7 separate regions of the Homo sapiens genome follow, and regions 2, 3, 4, 5, 6 and 7 are each linked to region 1. Evidence: promoter capture Hi-C in 16 types of primary human blood cells and fetal thymus (Javierre and others, 2016). All regions are on one chromosome and are shown on one strand. The core of a region is centred on a gene start or on the middle of the fragment in contact, and the rest is flanking DNA. Distances in the headings are between cores, read along the strand shown.

What was found. Contacts are between HindIII fragments. The CHiCAGO score rates a contact against its expected background, and 5 or more counts as called.
Region 2: a contact is called between a fragment that was not itself captured here and the fragment with the promoter of SLAMF7 in region 1, in 1 of 17 cell types (total B cells). The highest score is 5.9, in total B cells.
Region 3: a fragment that was not itself captured here is called in contact with the fragment with the promoter of SLAMF7 in region 1 in 1 of 17 cell types (activated CD4 T cells); the score reaches 7.0 in activated CD4 T cells.
Region 4: a fragment that was not itself captured here is called in contact with the fragment with the promoter of SLAMF7 in region 1 in 6 of 17 cell types (total B cells, naive CD8 T cells, total CD4 T cells and 3 more); the score reaches 9.0 in total B cells.
Region 5: a contact is called between a fragment that was not itself captured here and the fragment with the promoter of SLAMF7 in region 1, in 4 of 17 cell types (non-activated CD4 T cells, total B cells, total CD4 T cells and 1 more). The highest score is 7.0, in non-activated CD4 T cells.
Region 6: a fragment that was not itself captured here is called in contact with the fragment with the promoter of SLAMF7 in region 1 in 8 of 17 cell types (activated CD4 T cells, non-activated CD4 T cells, total CD4 T cells and 5 more); the score reaches 8.7 in activated CD4 T cells.
Region 7: a contact is called between a fragment that was not itself captured here and the fragment with the promoter of SLAMF7 in region 1, in 1 of 17 cell types (fetal thymus). The highest score is 5.4, in fetal thymus.

What each region holds. Positions count from the first base shown.
Region 1 is chr1:160,737,008-160,740,496 of GRCh38, reverse strand. SLAMF7 (SLAM family member 7) reads right to left here and starts at 1,250. Exons shown (of 7, transcript NM_021181.5): 1 at 1,141-1,250. The coding sequence starts at 1,195. It overlaps LOC124904440 (a long non-coding RNA gene), which reads left to right and starts at 1,338. Exons shown (of 2, transcript XR_007066687.1): 1 at 1,338-1,414. The HindIII fragment of the contact is 11,353 bases long and covers 1-3,489 here.
Region 2 is chr1:161,124,754-161,128,242 of GRCh38, reverse strand. The region is part of intron 2 of DEDD (death effector domain containing); the gene reads left to right. It also overlaps a transcript of NIT1 not described here. Among named protein-coding and RNA genes, the nearest start is that of DEDD, 6.2 kb to the left of the region's middle. The HindIII fragment of the contact is 1,588 bases long and covers 835-2,422 here.
Region 3 is chr1:160,349,818-160,353,306 of GRCh38, reverse strand. It overlaps NCSTN (nicastrin), which reads right to left. Exons shown (of 17, transcript NM_015331.3): 5 at 3,057-3,202; 6 at 1,935-2,085; 7 at 1,502-1,611; 8 at 1,101-1,253; 9 at 316-420; 10 at 70-147. Among named protein-coding and RNA genes, the nearest start is that of NCSTN, 8.2 kb to the right of the region's middle. The HindIII fragment of the contact is 1,190 bases long and covers 1,168-2,357 here.
Region 4 is chr1:161,091,005-161,094,493 of GRCh38, reverse strand. No RefSeq gene overlaps it. Among named protein-coding and RNA genes, the nearest start is that of NECTIN4, 3.2 kb to the right of the region's middle. RefSeq lists an enhancer at 1,619-1,718. The HindIII fragment of the contact is 3,929 bases long and covers 1-3,489 here.
Region 5 is chr1:160,395,766-160,399,254 of GRCh38, reverse strand. All of the region lies in intron 3 of LOC105371466 (a long non-coding RNA gene), which reads left to right. Among named protein-coding and RNA genes, the nearest start is that of VANGL2, 3.1 kb to the left of the region's middle. The HindIII fragment of the contact is 683 bases long and covers 1,632-2,314 here.
Region 6 is chr1:160,427,207-160,430,695 of GRCh38, reverse strand. It overlaps VANGL2 (VANGL planar cell polarity protein 2), which reads right to left. Exons shown (of 8, transcript NM_020335.3): 8 at 2,026-3,489. Among named protein-coding and RNA genes, the nearest start is that of VANGL2, 28 kb to the right of the region's middle. RefSeq lists an enhancer at 599-828. The HindIII fragment of the contact is 421 bases long and covers 1,727-2,147 here.
Region 7 is chr1:160,447,738-160,451,226 of GRCh38, reverse strand. No RefSeq gene overlaps it. Among named protein-coding and RNA genes, the nearest start is that of VANGL2, 49 kb to the right of the region's middle. The HindIII fragment of the contact is 4,867 bases long and covers 1-3,489 here.

The DNA.
Region 1 (3,489 bases), core at 1-2,500:
GGTACACTACACAGGCTGCCTCTGGAGGAGGGCAGAGGGGGACCTGCATGGCAGTTTTTCATACTTGTGCTCTTTCGCTGACTGATTTCAGATGGACACCTGTAGCTTTCAAAGTCTCTATAATTTTCCCCAACCCCTCCACCTTATCTCCCTCAAGTTCTATTTCTGCTCATCATTTCCGTTCAGGGAGTTTTTTTTTTGTTTTTTTTTTTTAAAGTGAGGGCCTATTCCAGAACCACCTGGTTAGACCCAGGTACCTCTCAAAAATACAAACTTCTGATGAATTCAAAGTGGGTAAGAGTCTGCTGATGCTGACCACTTAGCGATGCAGGGGAAAATATTGGGGGCACCAGCTGCCTGCGTGGTCTTGGGCAGATCACTCCAGGCAGGCTCAGATACACATAATGAAGCAGTTATGTGAAGTCCTTATAGGGGGACCTCATGGTAGTACTCCATGAGATTGATGACAGAAGAGATATTTCTCACTTATAGGGCTCCTGATCCTTTCTGAGAGCCCTTAGGATAGAAAAATCTTCAAAGACTAGAATACCAGTGACAGGTGGAGAACTGTCCTCTGTCCTCCATGGGATTAAACATAAAGTGCCTATGGTATGAGTTGGTTCTCTAAGTAGAGACTGATTACATTGCTTGAGTAAGGAAAGAAAATTCAAGTGATTCTTTCCATTTATATTACTGTTATGCATAACCAATTTTATAAATACATTTATAAGTAAATAAATACATACCTGTATAGTATCATCTTGTTCTTAAAGTTGCCCTCAAAAGGAGAGAAGGCTAGAAGATAAAGTTTCTGAGGCCCAGGAAAACTTTAACATTCCTTATCTAACTCATGGCAGAACCTGGATTAGAAAAATGGTCTCTGATACCCAGCACCACTTCTTTCAGCTCCTTCATCCCTGGGACAGTCAACAGGGGAGTCAGTTCCCAGAGCCATTTTTCCCCCTCTCTCTAGTCTCTTCCTGACCTGAGAATCAGAGATCAGAGATTGATAAAAAGCAAATGTTAGATGAGAACACAGAGCCTCCCGAGTTGAGCCAGAGGCCCAGAGTGGAACAAGAAACCTGGAACTATTCAGGATGGGGTAGACAGGAGAGTGGAAGAGAATCCGGCCGGACTCACCTGTGAGCTGCCAAAGGATATAGATGAGGGTGAGGCATGTTGGGGAACCAGCCATATTGCTCTCTGGAAGTCAGCCACTGAAATGAAGCCACTTCCCTCTTAGGTATTACTCAGACCTCTTCCCCAGCTGATATTTAAAGAAGCAGGAGGGGTCACGCCGCAGACATGTGAGATTGAGTAATTGCTAAATTATTTTCAGAGTGAATAGAGCATTTTACCTTGCCACCAGCAATCTATGAGAGATCTATTTGCTCCCCATCTTCATCAGCATTTGGTATATTCCCATTTTATATTTTAGCTGTTTTAATAGGTGCTGTAGTGATACCTCATTGTGGCTTTAATTTGCATTTCCCTAAAGCCTAATAATGTTGAACATCTTTTCATGTGCTTATTTGCCATCTATATATCCATATCCTCCTTGGTGAAATGTCTATTTATGTCTTTTGTCCATTTTATAATCAGATTCTTTATTTTTTTTACTGTTGAGCTTTGACAATTCCTTATATGTTCCAAGTATAAGAGTCATTTGTCAGATATGTGGTTTACAAATATTTTCTCTTGGTCTGTAGCCTGTCTTTTCATCTTCTTAACGGGGTCTTTGGCAGAGCAAAAATTTTAATTTTGATGAAATTCAACTTATCAGTTTTTTTTCTACCCACACTAGGGTCCAAAGGTTTTCTCCTGAAAGTTTTATAGTTTTATGTTTTACATTTAAATGTATGATCCTGTTTTAATGTAAGGTGTGAAGTTTAGGTTGAGATTCACCTAAATATATTGTCTATATTCATTGAGAACCATATCAGGTAATATGGTTGACAGTTTTTTTTTGCTTTCGACACTTGAAAAGTGTCATGACACTCCTCCCCTCCATGGTTTCCAGTGAGAAATCAGCCATCATTTAAATTGTTTTCCCTATAGGTAATGTGTCATTTTTCTCTAGCTGTTTTAAAAGTTTTTTGTTTGCCTTTGGTTTTCAGAAGTATGATTACAATGTGCGTGTTTTTTTTTCTTCTGCCTGTGGGTGTTCAATTGTTCTACTACCATGTGATGGAAAAGATGATCTTTCCTACATTGAATTACTTTTGTATCTTTATCAAAAATCAGCACTTATACTTGTGTGGGTATATTCTGGAGCTATCTATTCTATTTAACTGACTTACATAATGTAATTATTTATATATCAGAGCTTAAGTTTGCCATGTTATTATTTTCTCTTTGTTCTTCTGGGCTTTTGTTTGTTTATTTTGTTCCTCTGTTTCACTTTCCTGGCCATCCTGTGTGTTACTGGAATATTTTTTATAATTCCATTTTGATTTATCTATAATGTATCTTTTTGAAGAGTTTTTTTACTGGTTGCTGTACATATTGCATTTTACATACATAACTTTTGATCTACCTATCAGTGTTGACATTTTACCAGTTGAACTAGGTATAGAAAACTTACCTATATTAGGTTTCTTTATTAGTCTATCTTTATACTTGTCTTAAATATATTGTCTATATTCATTGAGAACCATATCGGTAAGATTATAAGTTTTGCTTCAATTGTTGAACATAATTCAGAACACTCAAGAGGAGAAGGACAATCCATTACATTTACCCATATTTTAACTCTTTTCATTGTTATTTCTTTATTTCTAATGTTTCAAGTTTCCTTCTTTTTATTTTTTTTTGGACGAAGTCTTGCTCTGTCATACAGGCTGGAGTGTAGTGGCATGATCTTGGCTCACTGCAATCTCCGCCTCCTGGGTTCAAGCGATTCTCCTGCCTCAGCCTCCTGAGTAGCTGGGACTACAGGCTCATGCCACCATGCCCACCTACTTTTTGTACTTTTAGTAGAGATCAGGTTTCGCCATGTTGGCCAGGCTAGTCTCAAACTCCTGACCTCAGGTGATCCACCAACTTTGGCCTCCCAAAGTGCTGGGATTACAGGTATGAGCCACCACACCCAGCCTTCAAGTTTTCTTCTTTAATCATTTCTTTCTGTTTCAAGATATTCTTTAGGAATTCTTTTATGATAAGCCTGCTGATAACAAATTATCTTAGTTTTCCTTCACCTGAGAATGTCTTGATTTAACCCTCATTCCTGGGTATAAAATTCTAGGTTGACAGTTTTTTTTCTTTCAACACTTGAAAAGTGTCATGACACTCCTCCCCTCCATGGTTTCCAGTGAGAAATCAGCCGTCATTTAAGTTGTTTTCCCTGTAGGTAATGTGTCATTTTTCTCTAGCTGTTTTAAAAGTTTTTTGTTTGTCTTTAGTTTTCAGAAGTGTGATTATAATGTGTCTTGGTGTGAATTTCTTTGGGTTTCTCTTATTTGTGATTCATTGAGTCTCTTGAATCTGTAG
Region 2 (3,489 bases), core at 379-2,878, 390 kb before region 1:
AATCAGAAATGTCTCCAGACATTGCCACATATTCCCCAGGGGTCAAATTTGCCCCTGGTTCAGAACCACTGACCTAAAAGCTATTATAATTCCTAGTACATTGATGATCTAGCCTGGGATCTAGGACTTAAAGGTGGCTAGTGTGTTTGTTTCCTCTCAAATGTAGGGAGTTAACTTCAAAGGATTGAAGCTTATAGAATTACATCCATTGATACATAATTAGGACCACAGTGCTTTCCTGTATTTTGCCTTATTTTCCATTGCGAGGGTATGTGGGGACAGTGTTTCTTCATTTCCTGGGGTTTAAGCACACTTTAAATTAGGGAACTGTGGAGCAACCAGCTCTTCTGGTTGGTTTAATGTGAAACCTACCCAATCTGCTTTATCTGAGAGCCTCACAATCAACAGCTGGCCCAAGGGAACAGGTGGGATAGGGAACAAAGAGAAGTTGCAGGGGCTCTGAGGAGGCTCAGTTTTCTCATGTTGCCTGCTATGAGCAATAACTTATTTTCCTTTAGCACCTTCATTTGTACCCAGTAACAGCAACAGGTGAATCGAGAGGAAGAGGCAAGGAATACCAGTCTATAGTTGAATAGCTATTTCCCATGCTTTGGGTGGGGCATCTGGGCTCTCAAAACTATATATGGATTACATTTCCTGTCTACATATCAGAACCCATGGTATAGGGTTAAGTGATCCCAGAGTGTACCTCCCCTTTTCTTAAGGGAATGAGTTTCTCTGTGCTTTCATTTTAGTTTTTCATCTGAGGAAGAAAGGACCAGTTCCTACTTACTCTTCAGCTTTCTCTATCAGCTTTGTTTTTCCAAAGAAGCTTATTATTTTATTGTTTCCTAGTCTAGCCTCAGTTCCTTTTTGTATAAAATGGACAGAGCAACCTGTTTAATTGTTGAGTAGGGTAGAGTGGTGTGGTATGGTGTGGGTAGTTCTGGACATTGCAGAGGAGGCTATGGCTAGTTAGAATATATGCATGGTAACTGAATTACCTGTATCTGTTTTTAATGGGGTCCTCTCTTGGACTTTTGTGAATTTGTTTCTTAATTGGAATTGCTTGAGGTGATCTCTTGGAGATTAAGTTCAGTTCAACAGTGGGTTGCTCCCACTATATTTGAGGCTCTGTCCATTACTAGGCACTAGGGATATAAAGATGAATATATCTCTCCATGAGTTGAGTAGGATCTAATGGGATAATAAATACACAAATAATTTTAGTACATGGTGATAAATGGTGTAAAGGAGATATGCATAGTGTTCCATAAGCGCACAGAAGAGGACTACTTATCTCTGCATGGGGGTGTAGAAAATGCATTTTGAAGATGGCATCTGAGCTGACTCTTAAAGAATGAGTAGGAGTTAGCCATCTGAAAAAGAGTGATGATGGGGGTGTGGAATAGAGAAGGGAGAGGGGCATTCAGGCAAAGAGAAGAGCCTGAAGAAGGTATAGAGAAATTGCATGATGTATGTGAACTATAAACAAACTGATAATGTTAGAGAATAAAAAGCGGATGTGATGGGAAATGAGGTTGGGAAGGTAGGCCTGATCTTAGAAGGCTTGATGTGTGTGTAAAGAATTTGGAGTGTTCGGCCAGGCGTGGTGGCTCACACCTGTAATCTCAGCACTTTCGGAGGCCGAGGCAGGCGGATCACAAGGTCAGGAGTTCGAGACCAGTCTGGCCAATATGGTGAAACCCCGTCTCTACTAAAAATACAAAAAGTAGCTGGGCGTGGTGGTGGGTGCCTGTAGTCCCAGCTACTCGGGAAGCTGAGGCAGGAGAATCGCTTGAACCTGGGAGGCGGAGGTTGCAGTGAGCCAAGATCGCGCCACTGCACTGCAGCCTGGGCGACAGAGTGACTCTGTCTCAAAAAAAAAAAAAAAAAAAAGAGTTTGGAGTGTTCTTATAGATAACGATGGGGCAATCAATGGGTCTGAAGCAGGAAAGTGACTTGGTCAGTTGTGGACTTCAGACAGCTAACTGAACTAGATGTGGCAGTGGATGGATTTAGGTAGGTTAAGATTGGTGTTGCAGAGAACTTTTAAAGTTACAGTAGTCCAGGTGAGAGATTATTGTAATCTGAACCATGGCAGTGGAGGTGGAAAGGTAGGATAGATTTAAGAAATATCTAGAAGTAGCATTAACAGGAATTTAGGATTGATTGTGTGATTGGAGAGTGTGACCAGAGAGTGCACAGTATAGGATGGTACTGTCTGGTGGAGCAGTAAGTATGAGTGACTTGAGTCAAAGTTGTTGAATTTGGGAATTGATTAATGGCTGCGTCATTGGTATTACCTGTAGCCCATAACGATGGAGGAACTTTGTGAATCAAGAGCCAAACTATATAACGAATGTGGAGCTGTGATTGGTCATTGATAGGGGATTGGTAAATGACATCCATGAGGAAAGCTTAGAAGGTGGTATTGCCAAGGCCAGGTACGGTGGCTCACGCCTGTAATCCCAGCACTTTGGGAGGCCGAGGTGGGTGGATCACCTGAGGTCAGGAGTTCAAGACCAGCCTGACCATCATGGTAAAAACCCATCTCTACTAAAAATACAAAAATTAGCAAGACGTGGTGGTGCGTGCCTGTAATCCCAGCTACTTGGGAGGCTGAGGCACGAGAATTGCTTGAACCTGGGAGGCGGAGGTTGCAGTGAGCCGAGATTGCACCACTGCACTCCAGCCTGGGTGACAAAGTGAGACTCCATCTCAAAAAAAAAAAGTTGATATTGCCAAATAGGGTGAAGATCAAGGGAGTACAAATGGCATAGAATTACAAGAATGCTTATTGTAGAAACTTAATGTTTATTTTAAATCCATGAGTTTTGGTAAATATTGATAAACTTTCTGAGCAGTTATCATTTCTTGATGTGGTTGGATTGTAGGAAAAATGTGGAGGGATGATTCTGGGCTGCAAAGGCCAAGGATGCTTGTATCTTTGAAATGTTTCACAACCATTTATATAAGGGTTACCCGTGATTTTCTCATTGGATTCTTAACAACTCTGAGGTGTATATTCATTCATCCCTGTTTATAGATGACAGCACTGAGAATCTGGAGTTAAGTGACTTGCTTACGGTCACACAGCTACACAGCCTTTCAGTGATACAGTCAGAATTTAAACTAGTTCTTTTTTTTCCGAGATGGGGGACTCACTCTGTCACCCAGGCTACAGTGCAGGATTATGGCTCACTGCAGCCTTGAACTCCTGGGCTCAAGTGATCCTCCTGCCTCAGCCTCCTGAGTAGCAGGGACTACAGGCACATGCCACCATGCCTTGCTAATTTTTTTCTTTTTTGTAGAGATGGGGTCTTGCTATGTTGACCAGGCTGATCTTGAACTCCTGGCCTCAAGCCTTCCTCCCACCTCAGCCTCCTGTGCAGCTGGGACTACAGGCGTGTACCACCAAGCCCAGCTAATTTTTTCTTTTTTTGTAGAAACGGGTCTCCCTATGTTGCCCAGGCTGGTCTTAAACGC
Region 3 (3,489 bases), core at 513-3,012, 390 kb after region 1:
ACAGGGCAGGGGTTGGGGTCTGGATTCTGAGCTGTAGGAATAGGAAATGAGGGGAGATGCTCAGGTTACCTGGTTCCGTACAGACTCATTTTTCTGAGAAACAGGATCTGTGTGCATCCAAAGCTCTAATGAAGTTCTTAAGGCCACCTGGGGGGAGGATGAAGAAACAACACTTAGAATCAGTCTCCTGTTCTGGGCCATGCCTAGGGGATAGAAGTCAAGGGAAGAGGCGGTGGTTCCTGCAGTTAAGACCGCAGAACAACAAAGGAGGAAGATTTAATTAAAAAGGAAGGGGCTGGGGGACATGCCACATACCTGTCCCAGCTCCACAAATGAGTCAACATTCTCTAACTGCACGGGAAACTTGCCCTTCTCCATATCGTAGACCATCCTCGAGCTGCCAATGTAGTCAAAAGTTTCCTGAGAGATGGAGGTAGGTGGGAGGGGGAACAGAGATTCCAAAGGGTTAGGAGAGCCTCGAAGGCGGCCAGATCATCAAAGCTGTAGGTAAGACGACTATCTCAGGTCACCTCAACTGCTAGTCAGCTTACAGTCATGTGACTTTCGGCTTCTCTTGGCCCCACCTCCCAGCTGTGACTATCCCTCATATGTATTACAAGACTTCTGAAGCCCAGAAATGGGGAAAGTAGCCTTAGTAAAGGTCTAAGATGAACATCAGCTATTATGTGTCTGATTCTTAACGGTCCCCCACCTCCAGTGACTCAGCCACAGATGCTGTTCCCTTATTCTGCTGTGGTCCTAGTGATGAGAGTCAGGAGCCTAACGGCTCCTGGATGGAGATAGCAGTAAAGGAGTCCAGAGAATAAAAGTAAAAGGCCGCCTCCAATATATCTTATCAGTGGGGGAAAGAGGGGGCTGGTTACATACCAATTCAGGGTGTAAAAGCTTCCTAAAAAGAAGGAATCTAAGCTTCCTAAAATGGAGGAATCTAAAGGGGAGACACATGTAGACACATCCAGAAGCTCTGTGCTGGTTAACAACTTAGGTCAAGTGCTGAGGTCTTCTCCAACCAGTAGCCACTCTCATCTTTACTATCCTCTTTCTTCCCTGCCATTGCACCCCAGCCAAAGAGCCCTTACCCCTTGAAAGAAGACAAACATGACATTGCGGGGCAGGGTGGTCACATCAGGTGCCTTTTGCAAAGCTTCAGCAGCAGCCAGCTGGGTGACAAAGGAAGCCACTGCGCTTTCAGCCCCTGGGGCCACATTCCAGAAAAAGGAACGACTATCCAGCTAGGTACAACAGAAGAAAAGTCAGGGGATATATACTTTAAAACTGGCCCCAAACCTCCTTTCTTGCTCCAGTCAAGAGAATATACCTGTCCTGTGGCAATGGAGACAACCCAGGAGTCCCACAGCCCAGATTCCTCCCCATTTGAGGCTTCCCAATTTAGCAACTTTGAAATCTGATATGCTAGAGCGGGGCCTACCAGCTCTTTTTGTGCCAGCCCTGCCCATCCTGATCAGAAGCCAACACTCACCCGGGTGGCAGCAACCACAACCCTGTCGTCAGGCTTTAATGTCCCAGTTGTATTTATAGGCTTTAGCATGCTCCACACATTGTAATCAGACAGGGGGTCACAGACGATTTCTAAGCAGGACACAAACAATGAGAGATCAACAAGGCTAAAGGAGAAGGTAGCTATAAAGGCAACATTGGAAATCTCTGACCAGTGCCCCACGGACTCTAAGTCGTTTTCTCTACTTCCAACAGTCCGAGGTTGGCTTCTCTGCCACTATCCACTTTAGGAACAAGCTGCCTAAATTTTTCAGAATTGTTTCTAGTTCTCCCATGCAGAGCTCCTTCATGGTGTCTACTCCTTCCCTATTACAGTCTCTCTAACATTCCCTGGCCTGGTTCCACTCTCCCTCTGCCCCTTATTCCATTACCCTCATGGTTCGGATCTGCCCTACCTGGGTTGATGCTGAAGGTGCTTTGGATGGAGCTGCGCCGCATGCAGGTGGCAGTGCTGATGACAGCATGCATGTGTGAAAAGAGCTGCATGGCACATAGTGGGAAGGTTGGTGCTGAGCCATTCTGACTCAGGTTGTGATCTTGATAGCACTGAAAGGGGAGATGGACCCCACTGAGACAGCTAGTTTGTGGAGGCCCTCCCTTACATCCCAGAAGGAGGAGGGCCCAGTTCCATCCTTTTGGGATGGAGCCACACCCTTTTCGGAGACATTTATCCCTGAGCTATAGTTATCCTAGAACCACCATAGGATCTATAAGGTCAAAGAAAAAAACTCATCAAGAGTTACAAAGGGTTGCAGACTCAGTGGTTTAGCTGGAGATGAAACTATCCCATTCCAGATGGCCTGGCCCAATTTGAAGCTTCAGCCACTGAAAAGATTCAGTGTGGTCTGATACAAAGAGCACCAAACTAGAGATAGGAAATCAGATATGACACAGCTTGGAGATCAACTCACCATACAACTTTGGACAAATCTCTTAACTACTCTATGAGTCAAAATGGAAATACTAGACCAGAATTAAGGCATATTAGAGCTAAAAAGAAGCTCAGAAATTACCAAATTGAATTTCTCAATCTCTAATCCAATGCTTTTTTTTTTAACGATACTAGTGGTTCTTAACCTGGGCTGTGTACCTTGTTTCATATTACTCTTTCAGATATTCTTTATATTTTCTTCTAGTCTAAAAGGCTTTAATGCTGTAATATCAGGTAGGAGCAAAATGTGGGGAAAGAATGTGAGAAGAACTAACGTCTTGGTTCTTTTTGGAGCAACCGTCTTTCAGCAGGTGTACCAGAAGAATGAGCCACCCTCCAAATAGGAGAGCCTATAAAATAATCCTTTTTTTTTTTTTTTTTTTGTGACACAGGGCCTTGCTCTGTCACCCAGGCTGGAGTGCAATGGTGCCATCTCAGCTCACTGAAACCTCTGCCTCCCGGCCTCAAGTGATCCTCCTGTCTCAGCCTCCCGGGTGGCTGGGACTACGTGCACACACCACCACACCTGGCTAGAAAAATAATCTTCTTTCTAACTGGAATTGCTAGGAGCTGGCAGTGTCATTACCTGCTTGATGACTTTGGTTTCATTTTCATCTTCAAGAAGAAAGATGGGGAAACTAAAGTCTTCATAAGCCAAACCATTGCCCAGCGAATTCCACTGTATTTCTCTGCAGTGAGCAAACTCTGGCCCATAGGAATTGGAGTAAACACCTGAAGGGAAGGATGGGGAATAGGGGGACTGGTTACTGGGACACCAAGTACTTAGGAACCAGGTGACGGCAGAAGAATCTTTCAGTTGGGACTAAGAGTTCAAAAGGAGGTGGTGACTCAAAGAAGTAGGCATGAAGTCTATTACCATCCACACTAAAATAGAAAGACAATGGTATCAGGGAGTCTTAGGCTGTAAGATTAGGGATGTGAACACGTGACAAAAAGAGATAATGCCAGGTAAGGCAAAGGAAGGGGAAGCAGGAGAGGGAAGGGATGAGCAGCAAAGA
Region 4 (3,489 bases), core at 318-2,817, 350 kb before region 1:
GTTCAAGTGATTCTCCTGCCTCAGCCTCCTGAGTAGCTGGGACTATAGGCACGCACCACCAAGCCCAGCTAATTTTTTGAGTTTTTAGTAGAGACGGGGTTTCACCATGTTGGCCAGGATGGTCTCGATCTCTTGACCTCATGATCCGCCCACCTCAGCCTCCCAAAGTGCTGGGATTACAGGTGTGAGCCACCATGCCCAACCCAACTTATAATTTTTAAACTACAGTGATGCAAAAATGATAGCGTGTTCGGTAGGACCCATACTTGAATTTTAAATTTTGATATTTTCTAGGGCTAGCGACTGGTATATTAAATGCATTTTCAACTTATATGTTCAGTTTGCAATGGGCTTATCAGGACATAACCCCATCATAAAAGTCAAGGAGCATTTGTATATTTTTCTGTCTTTAAGTTTCCATTTTTCTCACTGTGCCTTGAGATCTGTCTCTCACTGTTTCGACTTTTGTGTTTTTCTCTCTGGGTTACTGCCCTTTTTTTCCTGCTGACCAGAGCCAGCCATCTGACTTTCCTGCAAGGAGCTTTAGAACTTTCCAGAAGTGGCCAGACTTCTTCCCTTTGGCTGCTTTCTAGAACTATAGCACCAGTTTGGGGTCCCCGGGCACAGTCATAAGGTCTCAATTTTTGATGAAGACCTGAGTGAGCTTCAATACATAGGGCCTTTTCAGGGAGTAGAATTTCCCCACAGTGGGGTCTTAGTGTCAAAATAAAGATATTTGTCCCTTAACCCATACTGTGGTCCTGGATTTCATGGTAGTGTGTTCATGGAAACTTGCGAAGTTCATGGGTTGAGAGCAAGGAGGATGGGGCTCTGCACACAACTGGACCTACCGAGAAACGGGACCTGAACATGTCTTGCATTTAGCTGCCTCCTCCCCTGGATGGCACACTCCAGCTTTAGGGCCCTCGAGGAACAAGCAAATTCAGCCCCCTGATCTCCAAGGGTTGTTAGGCAACCAAGAAATGTGGTTATCATTAAAGGATGGGGCTGGGGGCTGGGTATTGGGGAATCGGTGGGCCTGCAGGATAGGCAAAGAACAACATAGCACATGGCAATGTTTTGATGTAATTTTCTAGAAAACAGGAGGCCACCATCCTAATATTGAGCATAGTGAAGTTCCATCAGGAGGGGAGTAAAGGTGTTTTCTAGGGGAAGAAAAGCTGCTGGAGCCCCTGTGTTCTGTATGGGGGTATGCCCATACCTCCCGGGATGGAGCAGGGGTGATCCTAGGGAGGAGCAGGAGGAGTGACTTTGAAGCCTTGGTCCTGGGGGGTGAGATCAAGGCCCATATTGGTAATCTTTCACCACGTCATCAGCTCCCCAACACCTTTCTGTACAAACTGCGGAAAGTTTGCAATGAGCAGATCAGGAATAGCTTATCACAGAGACAAAGCTGTACAGAAATGGATCACAAATATTTTATCCACTCTCATGCTTCCAACTAGTTCCACTCTGATTTATTTTTCACCCTCCTCTCTCCCTAAGCACAAGGGACTCTCCCCCAGCCTCTGACTCTTCTCTGACCTGGGACTTCACTGCAGGCAGACAGGATATTACTCACCAAGGAGCTCTCTCATCTACTCCTACCCCCAACTCATCCTCCTGCACCCCACTCTCACTCCCACCCCTTCCAACCTGGGCCCACTCCTTCCCTCCCCCACTCAATCTGACCCTCACTCTCACTCTTCTTCTCCCCCACACCACCCCACCCATCCTTGTCCCTCTCTGACTCACCTCAAGTCCCATTGACACAAACAAAAATTTCAGCACAACCCACTCCAACCGGTTTGGCTGAGGCGTGCAGCCTGTCATGGGGACAGAGACAGGTATAAGCGGATGCTTGGATGCATGCAGATCATGAAGAACATCCGCTGCTGTGCATACAGAGACAGTCCCACATATGTGCATAGCATGTATGTGTACAGAGATACGTAGGGAACACATGATGGTGGGATATAGCATGTTACAGTTGTTTCTGTGTCTGCCTCTCCTGATTGAAGGCTCCTTGAGGGCAGGGACTATGTGTTATGTGTCTCGGTCTCCTCCCTTGAGCCTGACACATAGTGGCACTCATTTAATGTCTGTTGAAGGAATGCATGGGTGCAGGCGCGCACGCAGCAATGTCACTCAGACAAACACACATGATAAAGACACTATCATGGCTTGAATTGTTCTCATTCTTAGCGACCACAATGTGGGTAGGAGGAGGGTAGGAGTGAGGCATGTGGGGAATGGGAATTCAATATGGAAGGGAGAACCGAACCAGGATACCAGGCATTGGTCTTGAAAATCTTCCTCATCCAATATTTCCTTCCAGTCTCAATCCTAGAATATGCCTTCCCCAGCCTTCATCCTAGGAGAGGGTAGGAAAGGCCTAAGTTTGAGGGCATATTCTCCAAAAGCATGGCTCTTGTGAGACATACAGGGCTGAGGGGAAGGAGGGGACAGAGGGACTTGAGATAGGTATTTGTGAAATGAGGAGAGAGATCCCTAACTCTGTCAAAGGCCTGGAGTGGGCTGCTGGACTCTAGTGCTCCCTCTCAGGCCCTGTGGTGCCCTTAGCCTACTTCAAGGCTGCATCATACCCATGAAAAAATGAGTATAGCCATACCCTAACTCCACCTCTGGACAGTTCTGCCTCCTTTCCATGCTCCGTATGGCTAGAGTTCAGGGTGAGTGATTAAGGGGCCCAACCAGGGGTTCAGAGACATCCTGACTGGTAGCACTTTCACGGGGTATACTGTGAATGGATAGGCTGAAGGAGATTGGATATCCATCTTGTGAACTAACTGCTTTTCCACTCCTGTGCCTCAGTTTCTCCTGTGGCTTCCTGTACCTGGAGGGGTGAATCCGTGGGAAGGAAAGCAGCTCCTCCGAAAGCATGCGATAGGATCCAAGGTGTGATAATTATAATTATAACACAGGATGCTCCCCCTCCCATTCCCGCTGGCCCTACTCCACCCCTGCCACAGAGGATCTCAAAGCAGCATCTGGGTGGGGCTGTTCCCCTGGCACAGGTGGGGACCTGAAAAAGAGAAGGGGTTGGAGGTGGAGAGAAACTGGGGAATTCTGGCAACCGGCCTGGCCTTTAAGGGCCTCTGACCTGCAGGAAATAGCCCCTGAAGAAGAGGTCACTGCCGTGGTCATTTGGCATCTAGAGCCAGAGTTGGGGTCATAGTCCAGTGACAGGAGTAAAGTCCAGGTCACAACCCTAGTTCAGGATAGTAACTCACAGCCAGTCGGGATCTCTGCTTTACTGATCCGACTTCACCATCCTTTTCATCCGGACAACTCATTTATTCAGAAATTCATGGCTTCACCAAAATGTAGTCAGTTCCCATGAAATGCTGTGGCCTGTCCTAGCATGGAAGACTGAGACAAGATTATAAAACAAGCCCAACTTTCAAGGAGTTCACAGGCTACAACTCTTGTCCTGTCCCGCAATTTAATACATTTACTGAATTCCTG
Region 5 (3,489 bases), core at 724-3,223, 340 kb after region 1:
CTTTTGATGGTTCATTCTAACCTGTCCAAAGATGAGGACAGAACCAACTATGCTGCATTGTTCAAAGATGCAGAACAGTAAAACACACTTCCTTTCTCCTTTGCCCAAACTCTGTCTTTCCTCATCCCCTCCTCCAGTAGTATGGGTAAGCAGGTGACTCAGCATCAAGACTACATGAAATATGCAGAATCATCATTTCAGGTACCCAAGTCCCTGCATGCGTCCAGGCACTCATTCACCTTGTGCCTATCATGTGCAGGCACTGGGCCGCACTGGGGCTCCTGGCAGTGACCACGACCAGGTGTATGAGGGAGTGGCAGGAGAGCTGGGGAAGGGTTAAGGGAAGTAGGGAGGACATGGGTGTCCCCAGCCCTGCCCCAAAGCACACCCCAGTGCTAGGCAGCTAGTGTGTAATTTGACACAGAGTCGGGGCTGCCGTGGCACTGTCTTGACTCTCAGGCAGATTTAGTGTGAATTATCTTCACATGCTGCTAGCCTGTTTCACAGACCCCAAAATGGCCCAAAGAACTGGAAAAAGGGCTTCTGATGCCAGAATTACAGATAATTCCATAGTCTGGCCCCACTGAAAGCTTGAAACCTAAGTCAGGATGTTAACAGACAAGGCTTCCCAATTAACAGGTATCAGGCATCAGGCTAGAATAAGCTTAGTCCCTCCTTTCTCTGACGGTGAGGTTGGGGGCTTTCAATTACATCTCTGCAATGAAAACACTGGATTACAGAGTCCAACAAAAAATTTTATTGGTGTGGTCTGTCCCATTCAGCAATTCTCTGTATTACCTTCTACCTTCACCTCAGGATAGAATCCCATCTGGATTTCACACGTCCCCAAGTCACTGAGTAAGCAAACAGAGACCCAGCTAGAAGGCCCATGTGCCCTATGGTCTAAGGGACCTAGCTTAATTCTTTAGAAGGAAGGAGAGCACTGAAATGACATTCAACTGAGATTTTCCTAAAGGGGCCAACCTACAATAACAGAGGGAGGCCAAGAGCCTGAGGGACAATAGAATGGAACAGATTGGATTTTGTACAGCTCCTGTCCTTGAGGACATAGTCGAATTTCTTAATTTCTTCAAGCCTCAATTTCTGCTTATATAAAAAGGGTCTAATGAGGTAACAGAAGGAACACCCTCCATATACTCATAGTGCCACAGTCAATTCCCAGTCGAGTTTCCCCTCTCTGTTCTGTGCCTAGGATACTTCTCTTAGGAGAGAACACTTCTCTAGGACACTTCTTTCAGTACTCTTCCTCGGGGAAGGAGGCCCCTAGCTAAAAGCCAGGGCCCTCCATTAAAGCCCTTTCAACACCTCACCAGCTCACTAGGTGGAGGTGGGGCTGGTGGGGTCAGATCAGAGGCTTCCCAGGAGCCCTGGGAGTTGGACCCTCCTGGGGAAGATTCAAGGAACTCAAGAAGTGACAGTAGACTCTCTCTGAGGGAAGGTCCAGACTATAGAGAAGCACCTACCTACTTCCTGTGTGGATGAAGCTGTCCCTGGAGGTCAGGCCCAGACCACAGTAGCAAAAGTTAGGTTTTCTGCTCTGATGAAAAGTAGGGCCTTTTTACAATGCTGCTCAGAGAAAGGGAATCCTTGGTACCTTACTCATAGAAGCTTCACACTATAGCAGAATGGCCATCAAAGTGTTTCCATGTAAGCAATTAGCAATTTTAGCCACCTCCCAGGTACAGGTGACTGCAGTAATGTACCCACATGCAGGGCCACAATCACCATCTACTTCCAGCCCTGCTGATGAGCCTGGGTACAAGTTGATCTCCCGGAATAGTTACAGATCTTTCCCCAGCACCCACCTTCCCAGAAAGGCTACTCTCAATGCTCACAAAAGGATTTCCAGACCCAGTCTATATTGGGAAATACCTGGGTTCTGGGTGTGAGGGGTTTCCCCCTTCACTTTTAGTTAAAAAAAAAAAAAAAAAAGAATAAAAGTAGCTCACACACAAAAAAACTTAACTGGTCAAGAACTGTATTATGTCATAGGCTTGTGGTGAAGTGTCTGTCATGTGAGATCCTGATCTCTAAGAAGAAGGACCATGCCTCATTCATTTCTATATCTCTGGCACATAAAATTCAATAAGTTAGCATTAGCTGCCTTCCCTTCTAGCTTCCTTCTCTTTCTCCCTTCCTCATCTATGAAACCTTGACCACTCCCTATTCATCCAACCTTTATTAAGTGTGAGTTTCCTCAAATCCAATCCCATTATCATTAATCTAAAATGTTACCTGCAATTAAACCAGTGGTTGTGAACTTTGACTGCAGATTTTAATCACCTGGGAAGCTTTGAAAACACATCAATGCCCAGGACCATCCCAGACTAATTAAACCAGAAACTTCTGAGGTGTGACCCAGCTATTGGCATTTTTTTTAAGATACCTCAGTGATTTTAATGTGAGAACCACTGAATGAAACTTTCTGATTTCCTTCCTCCTTCTTGGGAAGAATAGACACTCTCCAGCTCCCTTGGCTGGGACTAGGCCCTGCAGGTGTGCGTTATATCCTGTCCTTTCCCACCTCCATCCATTATTCACAATCTCTCCTGTAACCAACTTCGGCCTCTTCACTGATCTTTGCCCAGCAGACATAATAAAATGAAATACCTTCCTCCACTCAGCAGCCTCCTCTTGCTTTAGCCTTCGCTTTTATTTCTTTCTCATCCAACCTTCTTAAAAGAGTAGATTCTTAGGCCAGGCCTGGTGGCTCACACCTGTAATCCCAGCACTTTGGGAGGCTGAGGCGGGTGGATCACCTGAGGTCGAGAATTAGAGACCAGCCTGACCAACATGGAGAAACCCCGTCTCTACTGAAAATACAAAATTAGCCGGTCATGGTGGCAGGTGCTTGTAATCCCAGCTACTCGGGAGGCTGAGGCAGGAGAATCGCTTGAACCCAGGAGGAGGAGGTTGCGGTGAGCCGAGTTCGTGCCATTGCACGCCAGCCTGGGCAACAAGAGTGAAACTCCATCTCAAAAAAAAAAAAAAAAAAAAAAAATGGATAGATTCTTTACTATCTCTCTTCCTCCCTTCACTCCTCAGCTCCTTGCACCCCAGCCATCCTTCCAATGTGTTTTCTACTCCTGACTTCAAATACTATTATTTCCCAGAATTCAGCCTTTGGCCCCCTTACTCCCCACTCCACATGCTTTTCCAAAGCAATGTCATTCACTCCTGTGGCTTCAGTCAGTACTCACTTATGAGTGCTGCTAAATCCAGGTCTATCTTGTGAGCATAAGACTCAAATTTTCAACTTCCTACCATACATTTTAACTTGGATATTCCTTGGGTATCTTAAATGTAATAGGTTTAAAAGGAACAACATTATCTTCCTTCCACCTCTATCCCCTTGGCTTATTCAGACCTTTATCATTTCCAAACATGTCTCATTCCCTTCCAATCCGTCTTCCTCCCATGTTGCCAATGTGATTTTTATGAAAGGGAAATCAGCCTGTCACTCTCTTA
Region 6 (3,489 bases), core at 688-3,187, 310 kb after region 1:
CCCCAGCCTTCCTGGCAATTGGAAGAGCATTACTATCATATGCTTAAAGTAACAAAAAAGCCAAGGGTTACCTTAAGCAAGCTGACTTTCAGTCTGTAGAAGCCATTAAACTATCCCAAACAAACAAAAAAAAATAGTAACAAAAAAATTAAAATTAAAAAATAAAAAACTAATAACAAATCACTGAGACCTTGGTCTAAAGATCTTTATGTCTCCTCAGCCAGAGCCCCAGCCCCCAGTTCCCCCTCTCGGCTGTATTTCAAAGGCAAAGGCTAAAAAACAAAAATCACACATGGGCAGCATATGTAATCACATATAATCACATATAATGTCATGAAGTCCCAGGCATGACCCTGACAATCCACCAAGCTGGGTCCCTAACTTCAGTGCTATGTGAAGAACTTCTGTGGAAAACACATCCTTTCAAACAAAAGTTACAAATACCCTTTGCTGCCTGACAAATGGTCAGGATTATCACTTTTGCTTGCAGCAAACCTCTAGAGAAAATATGATCTTATCAATCAAATATTGAGGTCTGGCTTTAAATCTATGAATTCCTGGGGCCAGCATTACAAGAGGAGGTCCCTGAGGTTAACTAGCCTTCTCAAGGGTCCACCAAGGTTAGCTCAGTGAGGGCAGGACCATATCCAGTATCTTTACCAGAGAAAGTACTTTAGTATCAGGCTGGGAACATCATAGGCACTAAATAAAGAATAAACTTAAAAGGTGTTTACTATACTTGGCTGTTGAGAACAAGAATAATTTCAGAGGCATGCTAAGGTAGAAATTTGGTCACAATGTAAGTCACAAGTTGACTCTGAAATGAACTGGAAACAGCAAGTGAAACTATTCTACAAACCTAGTTACAGAAAGAACAGAGCCGTGAGAATGGGGATGCAATTTCAAGGGAAGTATTTTTGTTTGTTTTCACATGAGAAAGACTGGAGTGCAATTTTAAAGGGAGAAGCAAGTATATGATCCCTTTCATGAGCCCCTATTGTATTGTTAGTTGTTCAGTTCATTATTCATGCAACAATTTTTTATTGAGGACCAACTATATGCGAGGAACTGGTTTCAATTCTAGGAATACTTAGATGAACAAAATGTAATCTCAAGGTGAGTGTGTTCCCCCATCTTGAGTCTTAAACAAACTTCCTAGATTTCTTGAAGGAAACTCCCCGAGCTCCTTGGAATCCAGCCAGGGTTTGTCTACACTCTGCCTGAGAACACGCCATGAAGCCTTGCACTAGGGTCACCCAGCCTGTCACCCCTGTAAACTGGGTCATCCTCCAGGATGGAGCCTCTCTTGCCTTTGCATCCCCAGAGCCTGGCAGAGTATGAGGCAGGGGAGAGGAGGAGGAAATCTAGTGAATAGGCCACCTCCATACAGAAATGCTTGTTTTTAACCTTAGCAGGCTGTTTACATGCTAAGCATCTTGCCCAAAGTCACAGAGGTCAGGCCCAGGTAAGACTGGGAGAAGGGACCCAATCTCTTGAGGGTGATTTTAGTACCTGATTACATGCATTACAGTGACAACAGAGCACTGAACTCTCTACATATTTAGAACTAATATATATACTACAGAAACTTGTCTCAATGAATTGTGATGGGCTGTCACCACTGACTGAAATCTCAACTATCCCCTGAAATTCCTATGGCACTTTATGTTTTAGAAATACGTTTTAGAAACCCACTCCTGCCCTAGAGGCCATACAGACACAAGCTTGCTCAGGAGGGTGGACCCAGGAAGTAATCTTTCTTTCTCTATCCTGACAACTACACCAGGAAGTGGTTAAGCCCTCACATTGTTGTTTCTCTCTCTTTAGAATCAGGATTCAGAATAAGCAATTTCCTTTTTCATTTTCCCATTTCTCTCCAACACACCCTGAAGGCCTGCAGAGCAATGATGAGCTCACACTGCCCCCTCCTGCCCATTCCCTCCCTAACAAGGAATATATTCATTATTCCCTGGCCCTCATTTGCTCCCATTCCTGTAAAGAAAGAAAAGCAACAGAATGCCCCCACAAAAGTCAAATGTCTTTATTTTATATAAAAAAAATTTGTACAGTTTTAGTTCCTATGTTTAAGAAAAAAATCCTAAAATTGCCGTAATGTTTAGATCCACTGCAAACTGTAGAAACAAGCTTTTTATATATTAAAAAAAATTTACATTTTACAATTTTCTACATGCATGCACAAGGTCTCAGCTCTGTAACCCCACCCCCCCAAAAAAAAGGAAAAAAAATCTAGATCCAACAGTGGAAAATTCTACATTTACAATCTCACTTGGAAGGGACTCAAAAAGCCCTCTTCCTTTTGCGCACGGAAGAACAAATCACAACAATCACACACCAGGACTGAATCCATCAGCAGATACTGCCCTGTGGGAAGGGCAGAGGAAAGAGAAGACAGACGGACTGACAGACACCACAGAGGAACAGGGGAGTTAGCCTGGGACCAATGGAGGAGAAGTACGAACCCTGGGAAAAAGACGTGTCAGATGAGAAAGTTCCGGAGAGTCCGATGTCTCATCGCAGGTGTTACATCATCAGGGTTTGCCATTGGAATACTGAGTGGAGATGGGAAAGAGAAAAGTTAAGGGCTGAAATGGGAGGGGAATGGGAAGAAAAAATGAGAGACAAGAGGGAAATAAGAAAAAACAAAGAGAGCACAAAGACCAGTTTAGGAGAAAGGACCAATGGGGACAGTGGCAGAGTGGCGAGGTAGGTGAAGGACTGAGGCACAGCGTCCTGTTGTGGAGGGAGGAAAGGCAAGCGTTCCGAGGTGGTGAAAAGGAAGGCCTGCTAGGCACGGTGGGGATGAACGAGGATGCCATGAGTCACACAAAAGACAGTGCTGGTGAGGCCCAGCCACAGCAGCCCTATGGTGTCAAGGGGGTAAGAGGTGGGCATACCCCCACAGCAGGAGAATGAGCAGATCCAGCGCATGATGGGACAGACACAGTGGGGAAACTGCTCAGAGGGACTGAGTCAGCTGCACACCCCACAGCAGTTCACAGCATGGAGACAACTTCCCACAGGGGAGAAGCAGAGGACAAACACATGGCCATATGTCTGACAATTCATCCTGACATTTTAAAAAACAATAGTAATAATAATAATAATAATAATAATAATAATGAAAAAAGACAAAGATACCACAGTTCTGAAGCAAAAGACCAAAATGCTACCATTCTCAGGCACAGCCCTTAGTGCTTAGAGAGTTGGAGGCAAAAAATTTTTTTTAGGAAAGGGGAATGAAAAAAAAATCACAGTGATTAAAAACATGGCAGGATCTTAAAATAAACACTCCCCAGCCCCTAACCTAGGGCAGCAACTAAGATCCCAAATCCTTTCCCTCTCCCCCACCCCAACCTGCTCCTCAGACCACACCACACTCCATCCTGTCCACAAAGGCAATGACCCCAGTCACCATCCAGGCCCTGTTTTCCAGGATAGTGAGGTATTTATGTGACTCAGAAGGGACTC
Region 7 (3,489 bases), core at 579-3,078, 290 kb after region 1:
AGAGTTAAATCAAGGAAGTTAAGAGATAATACTGATTACACTGTAGTGTTTTCATGATACTACATCTGTAAAATAACCACATAGAAAAAATAAACGGAGGAGAGAACAAGTACATAAAGTTAATCATCAATTGTTCTCAAAAGTGAACAGGGGACAGTGATTACCCCACTGGAAAAAGCCACGGAAAACTGATACATAACAAAGATAGCAATGCGTATCAGTAGGAAAACAATGGATTTTTAAAAATAAATCACACTGGAACAACTAGACCTCCTCCCACTACCTGACGCCATACACAAAACTCAATTCTAAGAGTATGAAAGACCTCAATGTAAGAGACAAAAATACAAAGATTTTAAAAGGCAATATAGGAGAATATCTTCATGATCTTGGCATAAAAAAGGATTTCTTAAACAAGACATAAAAAGCACTAATCATACACATACATTAAATTTTTAAAAATCCTTTTACTTAAAGAAACCATAAAGAAAGTAAAAACCAAGCCACAACTGGGAGCAGATATTTACAGTATATGTAACTGACAAAGGACTAATATCCAGAAACATGTAATGAATTCCTGTGAACACACACACACACACACACACACACACACACAGAGAGAGAGAGAGAGGGAGACACATGAACAGCATTTCCCAAAGGGCAAAGAGGAAATCCAAATGATCACTGAAGATACGTAAAATTGTTCACCCTCTTTAATAATCCAGGAAATGTACATTAAAATCACAGCGAAGGATCACTACACACCCCTAGATGACAAACACATTAAAATTAATAACGCCAAGTGTAAGAGAGGATGTGGAGCAATGGAAACTTGGTACCTGCTGGGTGCAGAGTCATTTAGTGTAAATGGTTTAGCTTTGTCTTCCACTCAGTAAATCTACCCATAAATATGTACACTAGACTTGGAGGGATTTCTGCCATCTGCACCGGGAGACACATGTAGGAATGTTCACGGGAGTGTTGTGCTAATTAGCTAAAACCCAGAAACAACCAAAATGCTCTTCAACAGTAGAATGAATAAGTACACTGTGATTTATTCACAGAACGGAATATCATACAACAACAATAAAAACTATAGGCCAGGCGCAGTCGTTCACACCTGTAATCCTAGCACTTTAGGAGGCCAAGGTAGGCGGATCACGAGGTCAAGAGATCAAGACCATCCTGGCCAATATGGTGAAACCTCGTGTCTACTAAAAATACGAAAATTAGCTGGGCGTGGTGGCATGTGCCTGTAGTCCCAGCTACTTGGGAGGCTGAGGCAGGAGAATCATTTGAAGGCAGAGGTTGCAGTGAGCCGAGATAGTGCCACTGCACTCCAGCCTGGCAATAAAGCAAGACTCCATCTCAAAAAAAAAAACAAAAACAAAAAAACAAACAAAAAAAACCCTATAAATGCATACCCACAGCTTAGCTCCCACTTAAAAGTGAGAACATGCAGTATTTGGTTTTCTGTTCCTGAGTTACCTCGCTTAGGATAGTGGCCTCCAATTCCATCCAAGTTTTTTCAAAATACATTACTTCATTCTTTTTTATGGCTGAGTAGTATTCCGTGGCATGTATATACACCATTTTCTTTATCCACTCATTGGTTGATGGGCACTTGGGTTGATTCCTTATCTTTGCAATCATGAATTGTGTTGCAATAAACATACATGTGTAAGTGTCTTTATTAATATGACTTATTTTCCTTCCTACTGGGTAGACACCCAGTAGCGGAATTGCTGGATCCAAGTGTAGATCTAGTTTAGTTGTTTAAAATATCTCTAGATCTGATAAATGAATTCATCAAATCTTAAGGTTACAAAAATTAATGTATACAAGTCAATAACACTGCTATACACCAACACAACCAAGCTGAGAATCATATCAGGAGCTCAATCCTATTTACAATAGCTAGCAAAAAAAAATACCTAGGAATATACTTAACCAACAAGGAGAACCACAAAACACTGCTGAAAGAAATCATAGATGACACAAACAAACATCTCATGCTCATGGATTGGAAATCTAAGAGAGTGGTGTAATGGACATTGGAGACTCACAAAGGGGGAAGTTGGGATGAGAATAAGGGATGAAAAATTATCTATTGGGTACAATGTACACTAATTTGGGTGATGGATACACTGAAAGCCCAGACTTCACCACTCTACAATTCATCCATGTAACTAAAAAGCACTGGTACCCCCAAAGCTATTGAAATAAAAATCAATTAATTAATTAAAACTATAAATGCATGCATCAGTCTGGAAAATCTCATAAACCTAATATTGAATGAAAAAAGCAACTTGAAAAAGAACACTTGCAGTATAACCCATTTATATAAAGACATAAACAAGCAAAACTAACTATATTCTGTAAGGATGCCAACACAGTTGTTAAACTACAAAGAAAAGAAATGATTATCACAAAAGTCAGCATAGTATTATCTACAGAGGGCAAGGAGGAGGAGGAGGGGCACATAGAGGGCAATGCTCTACTCTTTAAACTGTGTGCTGCTTATATTAGGGTTTGCTTAACTTTAAACTAGTTCATTAAACCAGGATATAGTAGTTCATTAAATAGGTTCATTAAATATGAATGAATTGGCTGGGCATGGTGGCTCATGCCTGTAATCCCAGCACTTTGGGAGGCCAAGGCGGGTGGATCACTTAAGGTCAGGAGTTTGAGACCAGCCTGGCCAACATGGTGAAACCCTCTCTCTACTAAAAATACAAAAATTAGCCAGACATGGCAGCGCATGCCTGTAATTCCAGCTACTCGGGAGGCAGAGGCACAAGAATCGCTTTAACCCAGGAGATGGAGGTTGCAGTGAGCTGAGATCACATACTGCACTCCAGCCTGGGTGACAGAGCAAGACTCCTTCTCAAAAAAAAAAAAAAAAATATATATATATATATATGTGTGTGTGTGTGTATATATATATATATGCATATGAATGAATTAATATAGTTCATTAAAATACAATATGGTATATTAAATCATGAAGTTGCTATTGTTACGTGCCAAATCTGAGCAAATATTGACAATTTCACATGCATGGTTCAACAAAAACTGAATGTGTGTGTTCATCCAATATAGTCTGTGTATGACATATTTCACAATAAAAGAATGAAAAAAGCAAGAAACAATCACTGGATAAAAGTCAGGAAACCCAGGTTCTAAGGTAACGAATTGGATTCTAACCTGAGTTATAATACCACACAGGTGCCCTTTACCCTAGATTCCACTTGTTAGTGGTTAAACACTGGACTCTGCAGATGGCAGACCACGTTTGAATCCCAGCCCAACACTTATAAGCTATGTCTCCTTGGCCCAATTAATCAATTTTTTGTCAGCGATTTCATCTTGTGTAAAGTAGAGGTAGATAACAGTACCTATATTACACAGTTATTATGAAATGTATGTAAATATGTATGTACATAAATAAAGTGTTGTCAATACTGTATATAGCTTAGCTTAATGCCT